Linked DNA regions of Homo sapiens: region 1 is linked to region 2. Evidence: promoter capture Hi-C in 16 types of primary human blood cells and fetal thymus (Javierre and others, 2016). All regions are on one chromosome and are shown on one strand. Each heading gives the region's core, a stretch centred on a gene start or on the middle of the fragment in contact. The rest is flanking DNA. Distances are from core to core; before and after follow the strand shown. Region 1 overlaps MRPL50 (mitochondrial ribosomal protein L50). Region 2 holds the start of TLE4 (TLE family member 4, transcriptional corepressor).

What was found. Contacts are between HindIII fragments. The CHiCAGO score rates a contact against its expected background, and 5 or more counts as called.
Region 1: a contact is called between a fragment that was not itself captured here and the fragment with the promoter of TLE4 in region 2, in 1 of 17 cell types (naive CD4 T cells). The highest score is 5.4, in naive CD4 T cells.

Annotation. Positions count from the first base shown.
Region 1 is chr9:101,392,527-101,398,614 of GRCh38, forward strand. MRPL50 (mitochondrial ribosomal protein L50) reads right to left here. Exons shown (of 2, transcript NM_019051.3): 1 at 5,975-6,088. The coding sequence starts at 6,066. Among named protein-coding and RNA genes, the nearest start is that of MRPL50, 3.0 kb to the right of the region's middle. RefSeq lists enhancers at 5,205-5,734, 5,735-6,088, 5,796-6,088. The HindIII fragment of the contact is 2,255 bases long and covers 3,712-5,966 here.
Region 2 is chr9:79,569,665-79,575,687 of GRCh38, forward strand. TLE4 (TLE family member 4, transcriptional corepressor) reads left to right here and starts at 2,301. Exons shown (of 20, transcript NM_007005.6): 1 at 2,301-3,171; 2 at 4,025-4,122; 3 at 5,209-5,272. The coding sequence starts at 3,127. RefSeq lists silencers at 773-822, 2,733-2,852, 2,913-3,072, 3,183-3,652, 3,673-3,912 and enhancers at 2,183-2,312, 2,323-2,372, 2,413-2,502, 3,230-3,842. The HindIII fragment of the contact is 12,449 bases long and covers 1-6,023 here.

The DNA of each region.
Region 1 (6,088 bases), core at 3,589-6,088, about 22 Mb after region 2:
TGGAAAACCTAGAAGAGATGGATTAATTCCTAGACACGGACAACTTACCAGGATTGAATCACGAAGAAAAAGAAAACCCAAACAGAAATAATGAGAAAGAGGCTGTAATAAAAGTCTCCCATCAAAGAAAAGCTTAAGACCTGATGGCTTCACTACTGAACTCTAGCAAGCATTTAAAGAAGAACTAATGCCAATCAATACGAATTCTACCACAGCTATTCCAAAACACTGAAGAGGAGAGAATACTTCCAAACACACTCTACAAGGCCAGCATTACCCTGAGGCCAAAACCAGACAAAGACAAAATAAAAAAGGAAAACACATTCTACAAGACCAGCATTACCCCGATACCAAAATCAGACAAAGACAAAATAAAAAAGGAAAACTACAGTTCAATATTCCTGATGAGCACAGATGCAAAAACCCTCAACAAAACATTAGCAAGCAGAATTAAACCACACATTAAAATGATCATTCACCATGATCAAGTGGGATTCATCCCAGAATGCAAGAATGGTTCAACATATGCAAATCAACAAATTCGATACATCACATTGATAGAATCAAGAACAAGAATCATGTGATCATTTCAATAGATGCTGAAAAAGCATTTCATACATTTCAACATCCTTTCATGATAAAAACTCTCAATAAACTGGATACTGAAGGAACATACCTCAACATAATAAAGGTCATGCATGACAAACCCACCAAACAAGGACACAAAACAAGCTAGCATCATTGAATGGGAAAAAACTCAAAGCCTTTCCTCTAAGATCTTGAACAAGACAAGGATGCTCACTTTCATCACTTGTATTCAACACAGAACTTGAAGTCCTAGCCACAGCAATTAGACAAGAGAAAGAAATAAAGTACATCAAAATTGAAAAGAAGTCAAATTGTTCTTATTTGATATATGATCTTACGTATCATACGTAAGATATATGATCTTATGTATCATACGTAAGATATATGATCTTATATATCTTGTTGATATATGATCTTGTATTTAGAAAAACCTAAATATCCACCAAAAAAACTCTTAGAAATTATAAATTCAGTAAAGTTTCAGAATACAAAAATCAACATACAAAATCAGTAGCATTTCCATATGCCAATAGTAAACAATCTGAAAAAGAAATCAAGAAATCAATTCCATTAACAATAGCCACACACACAAAAAATCTAGGAATAAACTTCAACAAAGAAGTAAAAGGTCTCTACAATAAAAACTATAAAACACTGATGAAAAAAATTGAAGGGGACACACAAAAAATGGAGATATCCCACGTTCATGGATTGGGAGAATTGATGTTGTTGAAATGCTTATGCTACCCAAAGCGATATACTGTCAATGTAATCTTTATCAAAATACCAATGACGTTCTTCACAGAAATAGAAAAAAAAATCCTAAAATTCGTATGAAACCACAAAATGCCTTGAATAGCCAAAGTAATGCTAAGCAAAAAAAAAAAAAAAAAAAAAAGACCACACCTAACTGACCCCACCTTGCTTCTAACCTTTAAGCTGTCCTTGTTCATTCCTGGGCATAGGCCAAACTAACCTTGGGAAGGAAATGAGTTTACAGTTTGACTCTGAAACAAAATTGGTAATAGCCTTTTTCTGAAAAGACCTCCCTCTTGCCTGGGAACCAGTTTGCTTTTGTAGGACTAACAAATTAGCTACAAGATTAGAAATTATGGTTAGGGGTCATTCAGACTCCGGCTGCAAGAGTCTGATCCTCCCCAAATTGCTCCTGGGATAACACTGCTATTGTAAAATTCAAGGTCAGTGCTTGAGATATTTTGCAGACCCTGCACTCAATGGATTAGCTTACACCACCAAAGCCGGTAATCTGGCTCAATCAGTTCTGTGATCCCACCCAGGATCATAAGTTGGCAAGAACTCACTTAGACCCCCTATGATTTCATTTCTAACCCAACCAATCAACACTCCCCATTTCCTAGGCCCCTACCTGCCAAATTATCTTTAAAACCTCCGATTCCCAAGTTTTCGGGGAGACAGATTTGACTAATAATAAAACTCCAGTATCCTCACAGCTGACTCTGCGTGAATTACTCTTTCTCCATTGCAATTCCTCTGCCTTGATACATCAGCTCTGTCTAGGCAAAGTGAACCCGTTGGGCAGTTACAAAATTATAACCCTACTAGAAGAAAACATTGGGGAGATGCTTCAGGACATTGGTCTGGGCAACGACTTCTTGAGTAAGACCTCAAAAGCACAGGCAATAAGAACAAAAATAGACAAATGGGATTATACTAAACTAAAAAGCTTCTGTGTAGAAGAAAACATTGGGGAGATGCTTCAGGACTTTGGTCTGGGCAATGACCTTTTGAGTTAAGACCTCAAAAGCACAGGCAACAAGAACAAAAATCAACAAATGGGATTATATCAAACTAAAAAGCTTCTGCATAGCAAAGGCAACAATAAACAAAGTGAACAGGCAACCTAGAGAATAGGAGAAAAATTGGCAAACTATCCAACAAGGGATTAATAACCAGAATATACAAGGAACCCAAACAACTCAGTAACAACAACAAAAAAAACCTGATTTAAAAATAGCAAAAGATCTGAATACATATTTCTCAAAGAAGATATACAATGACCAACAGGTATATAAAAAAAATGATCTCTAATCATCAGGGAAATGCAACTCAATAACACAATGAGGTATTATCTCACCTGAGTTAAAATGACTATTATTTAAAAGACAAAAAATAACAAATGCTGGCAAGGATGTAAAGGGGAATACCAGTACACTGTTGGTGGGAATGTAAATTAGTACAACTGCTATGGAGAAAAGCATGGAAATTTCCCAAAGAAATTAAAAATAAAATTACCATATGATCTGGCAATCCCACTGCTGGGTATACATCCAAAAGAAAGTTAATCAGTCTAACAGAGATATCTGTACTCCATGTTTATTACAGCACTATTCACAATAGCCAAGATATGGAATCAAACTAAGTTTCTACCAATGGATGAATGGATATTAAAAAAACCGTACATATACTCAATGGAATATTATTCAGCCATTAAAAAAGGATGAAATCCTGTCATTTGCAGTAACATGGATGAAACTGGAGGACACTCTTTAGTGAAATAAGCCAGGTGCAGAAAGACAGATATCGCATGTTCTCGCTCCTATGTGTGAACCAAAAAAAAAAAAAAGACCTCATGGAGGTAGTAATAAATTGATGGTTACCAGAGGCTGGGAAGGGTAGTGAGGAGGTAAGGTATGAAGACAGATTGGTTAGAAATACAGTTAAAAGGAGTAATACAGTTAGAGAAGAGGACTACAGCTAAAAAGAGTAAGTTCTAGTGTTTGATTTCACAATTGGGTGACTATAGTTAGTAGTAATTTATTTGTATTTCAAAATAGCTAGAAGTGAAGATTTAGAATGTTCCCAAAACAAAGAGATAAATAACGTGATGGATACGTCAACTATTCAGATTTGGCTATTACACATTGTATGCTTGCATCAAAATATCACATGTACCCCATAAATATCTACAACTATTATGCATCCATAAACATTAAAAAAAAATTACAAATAAACATCACCTCATACCCATTAGGATGGTCATTACCAAAAAGACAAGTGTGGTGAGGACATGGAAAAAACGGCACCCTTATATGCTGCTGGTGGGAATGAATATTGGCATAGCCATTATAAAAAACAGTATTAAGCTTCCTCAAAAGTTATAAACAGAACTATCCTAACTATCCTAAGATCTAGCAATCTTACTACTCGGTATATATCCAAAGGAAATGAAAGCAGTATCTCAAAGAGACATCTGCACTCTCATCTTCATTGCAGCATGTGTGTATACATGTAAATGTATACATGTATACACACACATACACAATATTTAAGGCTGAATAAAATGCCATAAGTGTGTCTATATGTATATGTGTACCTATGTATGAATATATGTATATATTATGTGCTTGCATATATACACACACAAAAAATGGCATTTTATTCAGCCTTAAAAAAGGATATTTGTAACACATGGATGAACCTGGAAAATATTATGCTAAGAGAAATAAGCCAGACAGAGTAATACCACATGATCTCACTTATATGTAGTATCTAAAAAGTCAAATTAGGCCGGGTTTAGTGGCTCACGCCTGTAATCCCAGCACTTTGGGAGGCTGAGGTAGGTGGATCATGAGGTCAAGAGATCGAGACCATTCTGGCCAACATGGAGAAACCCTGTCTCTACTAAAAATAAAAAAATTAGCCGGGCGTGGTGGCGGGCACCTGTAGTCCCAGCTACTCGGGAGGCTGAGGCAGGAGAATCGCTTGAACCTGGGAGGCGGAGGTTGCAGTGAGCCAAGATAGCGCCACTGCACTCCAGCCTGGAGACAGAGTGAGACTCCATCTCCAACACAAACAAAAAAAAAGTCAAATTCATAGAAACAGAGAGTAGGATGGTGGCTACCAGGGGTGGCGGAAATGAAGAGACGTTGGACAAAGGTAAAATTTAAATTATGTAGAATGAATAAGTTCCAGAGATCTAATGTACACCATGGTGACGATCATTAATAATACTGTACTGTATACTTGAAATCTTCTGAGAGTAAATCTTAAGTGTTTTCACCACACACACAAAAATTCTAACTGGCCAGGTGTGGTGGCTCACCCCTGGAATCCCAGCAATTTGGGAGGCCAAGGTGGGAAAATTACTTGAGTCCAGGAGTTCAAGACCAGCCTGTGCAACATAGTGAGAACTCCTTTCTCTAAAACAAAACAAAACAGAAAGTATGTGAAGAGATGAATATGATAATTATCTTGACTAATAATCAACATCAAGTTGTATATCTTAAATATATAAAATTTTTAAAATAGTAAAGAAAATATAATCATCATTCTCAGTAATCTATTTCCTCTAGTTTTCTTCATAATTTACCACTTTCTGAAATTACATTACACATTTGTTCATTTCTTCCTCCATTAGAACATATGCCCTACGAGAACAAAAATTTGGTCTGTTTTAGTAACCACTGTATTCTTACAACACCTAAGATATAGCCTGGCATATAGTAAACAGCCTAAAAAATATTTGTTGAGTGAATGAATAAAACAAACTTGGAAGAGATTTGAGAGATAATAACAAATATTGACCAAAGAAGAGGGAAAGCTAATATCTGAACTGATGAAAAAGATCTTTCCTAATTGTAGTGGTTTTTGTTTTAAACCTAAGAGAGCATACATTGCTCCCTAGGGTTCCTACCATACGTTTTGATTTCCTAAACACTATCTAAGTCAAATTAGATTTACCTTCAAACAATTACACATGGTGCAGCCGTGCAGCAGAAAAAGCAGTAGATGGGGAGTTAGGAGACATATGTTCTAGATCCAGCTTTGCAATTAACTTGCTTTGTGACTTTGGGAAAATCACTTCCCTCCTGTGGGCCTGTTTCCTCATATGTTGGAGTACCTCGAGGATGAGAATGGATTTTGTTTTTCCTGCTGTATCCTAGGCGCTTAGAGTAATGCTGGCCCTAAGAAATCTGTTGAATGACTGAATGAATGAACAAACAAAAGGAGGAGGCAGTACTTCATTACTGAACCTTGCTTGTGAAGAAACACAGCCGGCAAATGAGTTTAGTTTACCAAGCGCTTTCATGTGTTTGCAGACAACACACTCGGTGTCTCGCACACGAGGTTAATCCTGCTTGCTTAATAAATAAATGAATGAGTGAAGTGAAAAGGAAAGGGGGTGGTATTTCCGTTATAAAATGAGAAAACTAAGGCCGAGAGTGGAAGAGACTGGGTCCCACCACTCAATGAGTGCTTCTCAACTCGGGACCCTAACCGGACCTCCTTGTCCTTGCTCTGATCAGGCGCGGGACCACGATGGCGTAACACTCTATTTTGAATTCGTCCCTAATCCTCCTTAACTTTCCTTGAACATGACCCACCGTCCACCATAAAGCTTTACCTGAATCGAGACCAAAATTCTCTACATGGTGTCCCTGAGACTGTCCACATGAAGACTCTTCTGGTAATGCCCGACACAGATCGCGCCGCCATCTTCGATGAGATCCACGGGCCT
Region 2 (6,023 bases), core at 1,051-3,550:
CTTCAGAGTTTGAGGCCAGCCTAGGCAACACAGGAAGACCCCCATCAATACAATAAATAAATAGAAACAGACAAAATTAATTTTACTAATATTTTTAATTGAGTTATTCAAAATATCACAATTTTGACATAATTATAAATTATTGAGCTGCAGTTTTTTCACATTAATTTTTTCAAAATGCCACATATATGTGTACTTACAGCACATCTCATTTTGAATTGGACACATTTCAAGTGCTTAACAGTCACATGTGGCTAGGTATGGAACAGCAGAGGTTCAGAAAACTGTCAAAAGGACTTCTCTGTCCTCTTATTTTGGGGATGGAGGCGAAAATATTTGCCGAATTGAAACATTCTGTGAACTTTGGCTCTGGGTTTTTAGTATGAAATTAGAGGCAGGTGAAGACCACCATAGCCTTCCTTTGCACCAGCTCACTACAGTGGCCAGAACGGAAGGAGGTTCACAGAACGTGCTAGGTTGGACATTAAGTCACCGAGTCATCCACTGAGGAAAGGGATATCATTAAGAAGAATAGTTTTCCACTAACGCCGAACCGGCGGCACCATCTCAACCAACAGGTCAAGTTACAGTAGGCAAGCACGCATAGAAATAAACGTCTAAAACCCAGCCTGTTACATTAGCCAACACTCTTCTTGACTTTTTCCGAATTTTTTCCCTGTCCCCAAGATTAGCCGCTCGCTAGAAAAGACTGCGAGCCTCAGCAGCCTCCCCTTGAACTGGGGCGCTGCCTCCAGCTGGACACGGACTAAGGATGGAAAGGCGCACTGACGGAGGCCGCCCCCATTTCCCAGGCCCCTCCCTAGGGGTGCCCCTCCTCAGCCATGGCTGCCCCTTTCTCTCCTCCTCCAGCATCTGCCCCTGGGGCCACCCCCACCTTTCCGCCATCTCTCGGGCCCGCGTGGCACCCTGCTCTGTTTTTAACGGGGATAAACTTGACTTGCTTCTCCAAAGAGCGGGAAAAAGAGGCGCAGTCTTGGTACTGATCTGGGGGAGGGAACGTCCCAGGGCGCGCAGGGGCGTTTTCTACCCGTGCCCCGTCGGCCTGCTCTGTTCAGTACCGACCGTGTTCGGGGTTCACGTGGCCCAGTCGGCAAAGTTTCTTTGGAGGTCCAGCGTCTCTGATTCCCGGATCTTCAGCCCCACCCGGAGCCCCCACGGTTACTGCCCCCCGCGACCCCCGATGGAGCGTCGGGATGCGCTTTCTCTCCGAGTGCCTCCGGGGGTGGAGGGAGGGAGGCCTGTTTCGGAACTAAATGGCAATCACAGCCCCCGCGGGGCTTGGAGGGACGAGCTCCCCGCCCACCCCGCGGCCCCGGCCCCAGCCAGCATCTCGCGACTCCATTTCTGGCTCTAAACAAGAACGGGGACCGAGTCGCGTTCACACGGAAAATTATGCCGGCTCCAGCGGCGCGTAAAATTGATGTGAACCGAACGAAGTAAGATCAGCGTGATCCTCCCCCTCTTGTCTCAACAGGGGTTTCGGCGCGTTACACAAGGCCGAGCTTGTCTCTTTAAGGAGACATTGGACCCTAATTAGTCCGCATTCCTGGCGCGGCTGCGGAGCGAGGGGCCGAAGGTGTCTGGGTTGGGAGACGGGTGGGCGGGAGGACGAGACTCGGAAGAAGATCTTTTGACCAGCCCCCAGGCTCACCGCTCCCTCCACCCTCTTTATTTTGCCGCCACCACCACCACCACCACCAACACCTAATTCTGAAGATGCAGCCAGGGCAGCAGCAACAGCAGCAGCCGCCGATTCTCCCAGCCCCACGTTACTTTGATTGACAGCTGAACAAATGTTTTCCCGGTTCGAACGCTCGCGCTAAGGAACGTCAGCCAAGGCGAAGCTCCGCCTTGGGCGGGCCATCTCCGCCCCGCCTCCGCCAACCTCATTCCTCTTCGTTAATTGGTCGGAGCTACAGGCGACGCCCGGCCCCCACGTGGGTTTCAGCTGGGTTGGCTCCTCCCCGCTGGCTTGCCATTTGTCAGCAGTGAAATGATGGGCACTAACACAGAACGGCGATTAATGTTCAGCCACCTCTGATTGGTTGGTGGAGACGCCTACCGCAACGGGGGTGGGCGGGGCGCTTGGAGAGCTCGCCAGAGCGCTCGCATGGCGGGCCGGTGATTGTAGTCAATCTGGCCGTATTCTCAGGCAGGGTCGCCCGGGGCGGACTACATCTCCCGGGATGCTGCGCGGCCGCCCCGCGGAAGATTGTGAATATGTATCAGAATGTTAATGATTAGCTGCTGCTAAATTTGGTCAAAGAAGTCACCTACACAGAGCGTGTTGTTAGAGCTGTGCTGAGCGGGTGTTTGGGTTGTTGGCTGCTTTCTTCCCCCTTTCTCACACACTTGTATATTATTTTGAGGTGGTGTTCGCAGAGTTTGAAAGGAGAGAGAATTAAAAAAAAAAGCCGCAAGCGTTTCACTCTTTTATTTTTATAATCCCCTTCAATTTGGGGTTAAAAAAAAGACAAGAAAACAGGAAGGAAGAGAAATAAGGAAATGAGATGTGGTAAAAGAAGCTAAAAGGTGCCTTTTAAAAGATCGTTGCTGTGAAGTGAAAAAAATCTCCAGAGAAACCAAAAAGCACCGCCGAGACCTCTTCCGAACCAAAGGAGTTTGTGTTTGCTTTTAGGGAAGAAGAAAGATCATTCATTCGGAGGAATAACAACCAATTAAAAGACAAATAAAAAAAGTTTGGAGTGGGACGCAGAGCGAGCGAGAGGAGCTGCCGGCGGGCGGTGGGGCGCGGAGCCCGCACTTTCCCGGCCGGGTGAGCGGCGGCCGCGGCGCCGGGCTCGGCGGGTGCGCCTCGGCGGAGCGAACGTCGGAGCGTTGCCTTGGGAGACGCGCGCCGGACAATGCCCGCGGCGGGCCAGTGACGCCCGCGGGGAATGCGGAGCGGCCCGGCAGCCGGCACCCAGCCGCCGCCGCGCGTTCCTGCCGCCCGTGTCACGCGAGACCCGGCGGGGGCCGGGACCGCCCGAGCCGCCCCTCAGACCGAGCCGGCCGCCTCCGCTGCCGCGGCCGCCTCCTCTTCGGGGTCATTAAAGCCAATGAGCCGCGCGCCTCTGCCGAGCGCAGCCAACTAAATCGGCTTGGATGATTCGCGACCTGAGCAAGATGTACCCGCAGACCAGACACCCAGTGAGTGCGGGCGGCGGGGCGCGGGCTCGCCGGGTGCTGGGGGATTCCCCGCGTCGCCCCCTGCGCACCGAGTTGTGTCTTTTGGCCGGAGGGGCGTGGAGAGCCGCCCGAAATCGGCGCCCCGCGCCGGGAGCAGCCCGCCCGCCATCACCCCCACCCCCCGGCGCGGTGGCCCTCGGAGGGGGTGCGGAGAGGCAATTGAGTTGTAGCCATTTTCTTATTGTTGTCTTTGAAGCCCCTGGAAGCCGCGCCGAGCCGTTTGCGGTCCCCGCGCCGCGACTCCTCGAGGGGGGGTGGCGAGCGATGAAGGAGGCGCGACTCCGCGCCCGGGCGGGGAGGGCGCCCTCGGCAGCGGCGCTGCTGGGCTGGCTGCGGTTTGGAAGTGCGGGGCGCCGGCCCCTCGCGCCGCGGGCCGCCGGGGCGAGCGGGCGAACGAACGAGCCGAGAGGGTGGCGGCCGCCTCCCTCCTCCCCCGGCCTGACCGCAGCCCGACGCCATGGCGCGGGTCCCCCCGACGGGCCAGTTTCGATTCCGGGTGAGGAGGGAGTGGGCGCGGCGCGCGGGTCCCTGGGTGCCTGTCTTTGGCCGGGGAGGGGAGACGGGACTCGAACCCTCGGGGTCCGGGGCGCGGGGGCCTGCGGGCGGGAGTATGCGGGGCCCCAGGACCACCTCGAAACCAGCCTCTGCCTGGGCTGTTGGGCGCGAGGAGGGTTGCGGGAGGAGAGTTTTAATCTCTCTTTGCTTGCGTGCGCGATGACCCTCACCCCCCGCTAACGCCGCATAGTAGGTTTTCTCCGTCTCCCTGCTTCGCCTGTGATGTGGGCTAATTAAATATTTTATTGTTGTTCTTCAGGCACCGCATCAGCCTGCTCAACCCTTTAAATTTACAATTTCCGAATCCTGTGATCGGATTAAGGAAGAGTTTCAGTTTTTACAGGCTCAATACCACAGGTAACGATATTGACTTTAGCTGATCCTTCTGTTTGCTTAGCTCTTGTCTCCCCGACAAATACACACAAACACTTACCCTCCTCCTTTTTTGTGGGGGCGTCACAAAGGTATTATTTTTTTTTCTCGGTGGGCAGAAAGGGCAAATCAAGGCCTCCTTCCTTAGGCAGGTGTAAATAAATTAAACATTTCTTCTACCGTAAATAAAAAGAAGGCAGAACAATCGAAACTGGGGAGACTTGGAAAACGCTGAGGCCAAACTTTCGATATTGATTTATTGGGGCCGGGAGAATGAAAGGTTGGGAAGATTCTGGGGCCTTTTGACATCCTTGGTTCTTTATTACTCCGGACTTGATTCCTTCTCACTTTTTTCTGCCATTCCACTGAAGAGCTGAGAGCCCAGGGAAGTCGGAGTGAGCGATTTCATTACTTTTATGCTAAAAAAAAAAAAAATGTTTTCATCTTATAGACGATTTTTAGACTTAGGGTGCCTTTGAGACATTTTTCTTTAGCTGGCTTTTTAATGATGCCTAATTCTTATTTCATAAATGCAAGAACCAAAACAAACCACTGAACCCGATTGACACTTTGCCCCTGGGTGGTGGTATTCAACTTGTCTGTGTGTTTTGGAGGGAAAAAAACAAGATATCATTCATAAGACATGCTTGATTCATATTTTCATTAATCTCTTTGTAGAACATTAAAGAAATTCCCTTGTGACGTTTTGGAGGACTTATTTGTGCTTGTATGTGCAGTCATTATTGAAGTTTATTTTCGTGTTTGTTTTATTAAGTGAATATTCAATTCTGGAGGAAGTTCCTGAATTAAACTGATTAGAGGATTTGTTTCCTTAAAACTTAATTAAAAAAAAAATCCTAAAAACAAAAAACCACATATATGATCCTTATTGAAGGGGCAAGTCCAGACTGGTTCCAATCACCCCTTTCCCCTTCCCTTTCCATAATGATGGGGGTATTTATTTAAGATTGTTGATTTAGTTGTTTGTAGGTGAGATTTAGAATATGCGTTTAAGAGTTGAAGGATGTAAGTTAAGATCATTGTACTTAGAGTATCTTATGTCTTGAACAGTCTGAAGCTGGAATGTGAGAAACTCGCCAGTGAGAAGACAGAGATGCAGCGGCATTATGTCATGGTAAGAAAACCATGTCACAGATTCAAAGTGCCTATTAGTTTGGAATACCAAAAACAAGAATATGTTTAAATTGCTGGGGGCTGCAAGATAGATCACAGTCACCCTGCCAGTGCAGTTGAAGTTGTGGGAATATGTCTATTAGCAACCTGTAATTCTAGGCTGTTATAACTTGCCTTTGACAACTGGCTTTGATTGGAATTTTCAGAAAGTTCAGCCACATGGGGTATAATTTTCTGTGCTTTGTTTTTACAGATCGAAAAAAAATAAAAACAAAACCTTGTTTGTTTTGTCACAAGCAAAAATGTTTTTGTGTTAGTGGCTTTCTTTGTTGTTTTATTGCTCTTGCTCCAAACAATTTTTGCCAGTTTTTCTGTATGCTGTTAACATTGTAAATGTCTTATTATTAAAGACATTATTAAAAAATAATGTTTTATTTCTTTGAAAAGGAGTGATGGATAAGGAAAGACAGCAGACCATTTTTCAAATTTTTTTCTCTTTATGTTACTATTACATTAATATTTGTATGTTTTCAATTTCTGTAGTGTTATATTGGTTTGAGGAATGTTGTAGTCTCCTGTATAACTGATGTGTTCTGCCAGAATTTCTATGCCAGTTATACTACACGTTCAAAAAACCAGATCTGCTTTTACAGAAGTATTATGAAGCATATTTTTATGATTGTCCAAGAAAGCTCCAGAATAACCCACTCATTTATTTTTCTATCTAGCTTTTTTGCTTTGAATGTGTGAAT